2 separate regions of the Homo sapiens genome follow, and region 1 is linked to region 2. Evidence: promoter capture Hi-C in 16 types of primary human blood cells and fetal thymus (Javierre and others, 2016). All regions are on one chromosome and are shown on one strand. Each heading gives the region's core, a stretch centred on a gene start or on the middle of the fragment in contact. The rest is flanking DNA. Distances are from core to core; before and after follow the strand shown. Region 1 overlaps ARHGAP31 (Rho GTPase activating protein 31). Region 2 holds the start of ARHGAP31 (Rho GTPase activating protein 31).

Region 1 (4,083 bases), core at 946-3,445, 65 kb after region 2:
TCAGTGGAGAAGAGGCAATGGGCTCAGACGAGGGAGTATCGGGTGCAAAGCCAGGAAGGTGTGAAGGTGCAGAGCATATTCAGGAAGTGGCAGGCTGTCCAGCGTGGCTGGAACACCGCATTCCTGTGTGGGGCTGAGAGGGAGGGAAAGCTCAGCAATCGGTGATGAGACTGGCAGGGGGGAGTGTGGCCAGATTGTGGAAAACCTCCTAGGCCTCCCTCTAAATCAAATCTCAGTTTTTAAAAGATAAAATATATTCCCTGTCTGTAGGAACTAAAGAGAAAACAGAACTAAAGCCCATTCTACCCAAAACAAATTCGAAAGTGAAATAATAATAAAACAATCGCTTTGAATCCTGTAGGGAAAATGAGAAGTACAGTATAAACACTTCTCACTCTTTTTTTCCTCTTTTTCTCCTGGAAGGAGGTTATACTTGAGTTAAATGTATATAGTTTCTAACTAACCGTTCCCAAAGGGTGGTTTCAAAAATGTTCTGAGCCAGATAATGGTCTAGTTTCTCAAAGGATAGTGCTGCTTTGGATTTATATGTTCTCATCTATAACAATAAGAAACAGTTGCATTACTTATAACATCACTCTTTATGCATGTGCATAATGATGAACCATTATTCCAATAACCAATGATGAAGGATGTGGACAATATAAATCAGAAATAAGAAGCTTTTCTCCTGATACAAAAAGCACAAGCAACAAAAGAAAAACATAGATAAATTGGACTTCACTGAAATGTAAAACTTCTGTGCTTCAAAGAACACCATCAAGAAAGTGAAAAGACCACCCACAGCATAGGAGAAAATATTTGCCAATCATAGGTCTAATAAGAGTCTAGTATTCAGAATATATAAAGAAATCATAACCCAGCAAAGACCACCCAACTAAAAATGGACAAATTATCCAAATAGACATTTCTTCAAAAGAGATATACAAACGGCCAGTAAGCACAAGAAAAGATGTTCTACATTGTTATCAGGGAAATGCAAACCAAACTGCAATGATACCACTTCACAACTACTAGGATGACAATAAAAAAGATAGACAACAAGTCTTGACAAGGATATGGAAAATTGGAACCCTCATCCATTGCTGGTGGGAATGTAAAATGGCACAACTATTGTGGAAAACAGTTTGGCAGTGCCTCAAAAGTTAAATGTAGAGTCACCATACGACCTAGCCATTTCACCCCTTGGATATATATCCAAGAGAATTGAAAACATATATCCATACAAAAACTTGTACGTAAAGGTTCATAGCAACAATATTCCTAATAGCAAAAAGTGGAAATAACTCAAATTTCTATCAACTGGTGAATGAATAAACAAAATGAAGGCTTTATTTGGAATTTTATTCAGCCATAAAAATGAATGAAATACTGACACATGCTACAACATGGACGGACCTTGAAAACACTATGCTAAATAAAAGAAGTCCGTCACAAAGGCCACATATTTTAAGATCTCATTTATAGGAAATGTCCAAAACGGGCAAACCCATAGAAAATAGAACGTTGATTAGTGGCTGTTGGAGCTGGGAGAAGGGGAAATGGGCAGTAACTACTAATGGATATGGGTTCCTTTCTTGAGAGATGAAAATGTTCTGGAATTAATGTGATGATTGCTTAACTTGTGAATACACTAAAAATCACTTAGTCGTACACTTTAAAGGGTGAATTATATGGTATTTTAATTATATTTCAGTTTTTTTGTTTTTAACTTTTTTTTTTTTTTGAGACAGAGTCTCACTCACTCTGTCACCCAGGCTAGAGTGCAATGGTTTGATCTCAGCTCACTGCAACCTCTGATTCCCAGGTTCAAGCGATTCTCCTGCCTCAGCCTCCTGAGTAGCTGGGATTATAGGCGTGCACCACCATGCCCGGCTAGTTTTTGTAGTTTTAGTAGAGACGAGGTTTCACTGTATTGGGTAGGCTGGTCTTGAACTCCTGACCTCAGGTGATCCACCTGCCTTGGCCTCCCAAAGTGCTGGGATTATAGGCAGCCTGAGCCACTGTGACTGGCCTATATCTCAGGTTTAAAAAGAAAAAATAAAATGCTTAAAAGGAAACTTTTCTCCAAGGAGGACAAGCCAAAGCCTCAACATATTTTTAAATTTTTTTTCTTAGAAAATTAGAAAGTGGTTCATTTGTTTTTTTTTTTAAAGAACAGAACACATTATACTTTGTTAAATAAATACCACAACTTTTCAACATTTATTTAATTCCACATGAAGCCAGGAAGAAAAGAGTAGAAAGAAGTTAAAACAGGGAGGAGGAAGGAGACTCAGAGGGAAAATTGGGGTGGGCAGTGACCTCCAGGCAGGGAGAGCCTCGCAGAGGCCAGGGAGGAGCATGGGACAGAGGAGTGGAACAGGGATGGGGAAAGGATGGGACAGGAACAAAGAACAGAGGCTGGCAGAGAGAGCTCTTGGATTCTGGGGGGGAAACGCCTAGGAAGTTCTGTACTCACAACCCAGAGAAATGAGGAAGTAATGTAAATCTTTACTGCGTCTCTTGGGAAAATGCTGAAGAGGGGGCCCATTCACAGCACAGCAAAATTGTTTAAAAATCCCCCCTCTCTCCCGTGTGCATCGCAACAGATGCTTACAGGATTTCTTCCTGTGCAGTGTCTTGTCTCCCTCATTATCTTACCCTCTTCCCTCAAGTATCATTATTCTTTGCCCACCGGCAGCTCTTGGTCCTTTTTATTACCTCAAACAAGATGATGAACATATCCATCACGCCCAAATGTTTCCTCCGGCTCCTTTGTCATTCCTCCCTCCTGCCTCTTCCCTGCTTTCTCTTCCTACAAGTTAGTTTGCATTTTCTACAGTTTTACATAAATGGAATCCTACCCTATGTAGTCTTTCATAGTCTGGCTTCTATCACCCAGCCGAGTGTCTTTGAGCTGCACTCACAGGCTTTATCACTCCTTGTTGTTGCCGAGTATATTATATTGTGTGTACACACCACTAGACTTTACTTTGAAGGTCAGGAATGCAGGATCCAGAGAGGGGACGAAATCTGACCAAGTCAAGACCTTAACAAAATCCAGAATGGAGATGGGGGAGTGCCTGTTTCCCTAAAACACAAATGCCATTTGCACTATGAAAGAATGTGGCCACCACAACCACGTAAATGACCAAATACAACTGTGCTTCTTTCAATCTCTGTCTCCAGGTCTGATCAGGTCCCAGGCACACAGGGAACTGAGGCAGCTTAGCAGTGTTATGACTTCTGGGGGTGACTTCGAGAAATGTTTGACTTCTGGCCTTTTCTGCATTAAACCCTTCAAGAGGTTAGGACATGAGGAAAACATGCCATGTTATTTATAAGTGTAAAATATCTGTTAGTAGGAAATAAATAAAACAAAGGACTGTATAATATTTTATGAACTGTAAAGCATAAATCAAAGGCAAGATTTTCTTTTCCCTCAGAAACCTCTTCAAGTTGTATTTTGTGCTCAGATTAAAATTTAACATTTAAGATAACTGATCTAGGAAAAACAAAACAAAACAAGGGAGTTAGAGGGCCATAAGTGAAATGATTCTAAGAAGCTATGATATTATGTCATCAGCAGCAACTATGTGTACCTCTGTAGGAGGAGACTCAGAGTTCTATGGGCCCAGGATGAATCCCACAGAATGAGCTCTGTGACTCTGACCTCCAGCGTCAGTCCTTCCCATGCCTAAATCGACAATAGAAGCTTTCTTTCTGTCTATAACTACTCAGCTATTTTGATCAAGCTTCTACCCTGTCCAGAATCCTAGGGTGTCCCCAATCTGATAGGACCCCTGGGACAATAGTTTAAAGAATTCTGAGACTTTGAGACTTAACAATAGCCACTGCAACACTACCCTCCAGGGCTATTTTCAGACCCTTGCTATTCTGAGTGTGAGCTGCAGATTAGCAGTACCTGCATGACCTGGAATTTGTTAGAAAGGCAAATTCTCAACACTCCTACCACCTGCCTCCCTACTGAATTGCAATATGCATATCAGTGAAATCCCCAGGTGATTTTATGCACATTAAGGTATGTGAGAAGCCCTGGTCTAGACTAGTGGTTCTTCAACA
Region 2 (3,919 bases), core at 243-2,742:
TGTCACTGAGAGATGGAAAATGAAAAACAGGAAAGACAATTCATAGAGGTTGGGCTGCAAACTCAAGTGGCAGCAGAGGCCAGGCAGGTGCAAAAGGGGGAAGACAGGCCGTGGGGTCTGCAAAACTGCAAGAGTCGTCTCTCTAAAGAGGGTGCCTCCAAGGGGCCTGCCACAACTCAGCATCAGCCGTCCTTGCCATATGGGAATGCACTTGTGGTGTAACTAGATCTTCCATTTTTTCAAGAGAAGCCAGAAATTCAGATTTTATGTGAAATCTCTTAACTTTTTAATGCTAGCTACTAATTTTAAAACGTGTTAAAGCATGGTGTCTGCCAGCCAAGTACATCTATGGGCCAGATCTGGCAGGGTGGCTATCAAGTTGTGACCTCTGACATAGAGAAAATGTCAAGGGTCAAAGTTCATAGACTGTTAAGGTTACATAGAGAGACAGTGACTGTAAAGGGATTCAGTACCTAAAATGCTACGGATGCAGCTTTGCCAGCAATCTGAGCTGTATGACATATGCCCCTATCCTTCAAGCCTGTATATGGATTTGAATTTATACAGGAAGTTTCATCTAATCCTCAAATGGTTAAATCACAAGAATTTGAGTGCTTTCTGTGTGCTGAGTACACAGAAGTTAAAGAATTTAAAATCTAACTGGAGAAGAAAAAAACATGCCCTCTTGAAACAACTTGAAACAAATTATGAAAGAACCTGGGAGACTGCTTTCTTCACATTTCATGTGTCAGAGGCATCTTAAATCCTGGTTTGTCCCCCCCAAATCACTTCCATTTAGAAAACTTTGCAGTAGTGTGTGTGTGTGTCTTGAATATGTAACCAGAAATCTGATTTCCTGGGCAGTGGTTACAAAGCTGCAGCCTCTCTTTGCCCAGGGGTATCTTTACCCCAGAGTGGGAGGGGAGTGAGCTGAGGTGGGGGTGCACGAACGCTGCAGAGGAGGTTGGGATGGGAGTGGCCGGCGTGAAGCCACTGCCTGTCAGGTTTCTCCGCTGGAGTCCCCTGTTTGTCTCTGTCATTACTCTTTAAGTATTTGCGTAGCAGACAGGCGGGCACCGAAATAGAAAGTGTCAAAGATACGATGACAATGAGGATAAAACCAGGGCAGAGGGTTCTGAAAGTCCCAACCAGCACGGTCCCCGCAGAATGCCAGCGCACCTCCTCCCGCCACTTCAAAGAGCCGGCTCGGCGGGGCAGGAAGCGGCGGCTGCGGCTGCGGGTCCTGCGAGAAGAGCGCGATTTCCTCCGGGGCTGCCCAGTTATCTCTGGAGTCGCAGAACTGCTCTCGGGAGAACGCGTTCTCTACCCCAACCCCGTGCTCCTCAACCCACCCACCTACTTCCTCTAGCTCCACACACTCACAAGCACCGAGCTGCCAAAAATTTCCACCCACCGCCCCCCTCCCTAGCTAACTTCCTTCCAGCATTTCCTGAGCTGGATGATCCTAGGATTTGTAAGACAGGAAAAAAAGGAAGGCGTGAGGGCGGGCAGCAGCGACAGGATGCTTGTTTTTCGCTCTACCAAAGTCGTCTGAAGGCGAGACAGCGGGCCCAGGGCGCAGGACCCACCGCAGCCCCCTGGGCAGTCTCCTCGCCCCGCGTCCGCGTCGTCTCCGGGGCACTTAGTAAGGGGTGGGGAGAGCTTGCCCTCCCTCTTAAGCTGAGGAGAAACACCCGAAGACACCGCAGGAGCCTGTGAAAGTCCCTAGGACTCCAAGTGAGGAAGTGACACTCCCAGGCGAGCCGGCCCGCGGCTGCCAGTCTGCACGGCCTCGGCACGGCGGCCCCGGAGCGGCGCGGGGTGGATCTCAGGCTCTGCCGGCCCGCGGCCCGCGGGGTCCATGCGCAGGGCCCCCAGCCCAAGTTCTTCCATCTTCCGATGCGGCCCCCCAGAGCCGCGGGGCAGCCGGTGATCTAGCCCGGGAGCCCATCTTACAGCGGTGCCAAGCAGAGGGGCGGCAGAGACGGAGGGGCAGCCTCTTTGGGACTAACTCATGAAGAACAAGGGTGCTAAGCAGAAGCTGAAACGAAAGGGAGCCGCCAGCGCGTTTGGCTGTGACCTGACGGAGTATCTGGAAAGCTCGGGACAGGATGGTAATGTGCCTTGGCCTTTCTCCCCCGCCCCCACCTTCTTTTTGTTTGAGGGAGAGACGGACTCTCTCGAGTTGTGATAGAGTCGGTTCACAAGTTAATGTATTCCAGGCCTGTGCGCTCATTGCACTTTTTTTTCTTTTTTTTTTTTAAAGAACATAAACGATTCTTAAGGTGCACAGCGCTGCTGTCCCGACGCGCAGAGGCTGCTGTGTCAGTCCTTCCGTTTGCCTCACACAAGCTGTTAATGGGTGGTACTGCCGCAAGTTTACCGGGCCACCTCAGGGGATGGGGGTGGAAGCTGCAGAGGTCCCAATCCTAAACTTGGCACGTTGGAAGGGAGGGAGGAGGGGTGGACATGTGGGATGGTGATCAGTGGTCTTGCCTGGGTACAAAATCATGACCGCCTTAGCTGTCCCTCCTGGGCTCTCCAATTTCGTCTGCTCACATCTTTTTTTATTAATGTGTTAGAAGGCAGTTGCGGGTGGGGGGTGGGGGAGGATCCTGGCTGGGGGAGTGGTTGCACAAACATTTCTGAATTTCTGAGCTGATGCCAAATATATAGTACCTCCACCCCCTTTCCACAACCCCCTCCCCGCCCTGCAAGACCTTTTCCCTCCTCTTGGCTTTCAGATTAACATTTGGTGTGTCAGACAAGAAGAGTGTTGTAAAAAGGTCAGAGGGCCTCCATTTTTAAATAGTTTAGGGTAAGTAGAGAAAAGGAAAACTTCTCTGTTTTCAAGGTCAGATGGGGGTAGGGGGGAGTTGGGGATGGGGGAATCCAGCGGAGACAATTTAAACATTTGTTGGGGAAGGGGGAAAGAAAACACCATCTAGATTACAATAACAGCGTTTGAGCTTAGAAGTGTTTAATCATAGGAAAGTTGGAAAATTGAGCATTAAATGACTCCTTTTGTAAGGTTGACTGGTTTTGCACTTACCCTTGACAAAAAGGCCTTGTCTTCAGAAGCTTCAGCGAGAGGAAAATAGCCTACTATATAGGCCATGTGTTTATACATAGATAGATACAACAAAGGGGAAAACTAAGGGCTGTGTAACCGTGCGGAATAATTCTGCCTCCAGGAAAATAATCTCAAAACCTATTTGATTAGTCCATATCGAATATGCATTTCAAAAACAGTGCAATGCTTTTGTTTCACTTCTGTGTTTTGGGAGACTCAGCACCACCTAGTAATTTGCAGTGGTGTGATATTCCTGTGGTATTCTAGAGTTCAGTCTGCTGTGTCATTAGGACAAATAGCTTAGGATTTTAGAGCTTGGAGAACCACAGGTTTCAAAACTGACTCTTTTGAAATTGATGCATAACTTAACACTTCATTGAATCCTCACCAACCATCTGGAGAGGTAGATTTGAGATAAAAATCACTTGGTTTGAGTTTTTTTGAGTGTGAGAAAACTCCAAGTATGCCTCTTAACCACTATCGTCAGAAGTTTACAATGAAAGGTTCCTCTTCACCTATTTTTGCAGGGGCCTTCAAGTTAACCTCCAGGTACACTAGGAATGCTCCTGGGATGCCACCTTTCACCATGCGGGTGTTATTCTGGCCCCTCCCTCAAATCTGTGAGAGTTGCATAGGGGTGCTTGCCAGCCCTGTTCGTTCTTACAAACTAATAGATTATAGGATGAGCCAGAACCCCAGGGTTCTATGAAGATATGTCAAAGGCAGCTTTAGGCAGCTGTTCTTTCACCTGCTTTATATTTTGGGCTTCTGCATATGTTTCATTTAGACAAAAAAAAACAGAGACTACTGCTTAAAAGAATGGCAAACCAGTACCCCGGGTTCCCC

What was found. The method cuts DNA at HindIII sites, captures the fragments that hold promoters and counts their contacts. A CHiCAGO score of 5 or more calls a contact.
Region 1: a fragment that was not itself captured here is called in contact with the fragment with the promoter of ARHGAP31 in region 2 in 4 of 17 cell types (activated CD4 T cells, monocytes, endothelial precursors and 1 more); the score reaches 6.6 in activated CD4 T cells.

What each region holds. Positions count from the first base shown.
Region 1 is chr3:119,357,288-119,361,370 of GRCh38, forward strand. All of the region lies in intron 1 of ARHGAP31 (Rho GTPase activating protein 31), which reads left to right. Among named protein-coding and RNA genes, the nearest start is that of ARHGAP31-AS1, 37 kb to the left of the region's middle. RefSeq lists an enhancer at 3,565-4,083. The HindIII fragment of the contact is 3,035 bases long and covers 679-3,713 here.
Region 2 is chr3:119,292,891-119,296,809 of GRCh38, forward strand. ARHGAP31 (Rho GTPase activating protein 31) reads left to right here and starts at 1,493. Exons shown (of 12, transcript NM_020754.4): 1 at 1,493-2,114. The coding sequence starts at 2,015. RefSeq lists an enhancer at 916-965 and a silencer at 1,806-1,925. The HindIII fragment of the contact is 3,332 bases long and covers 1-3,079 here.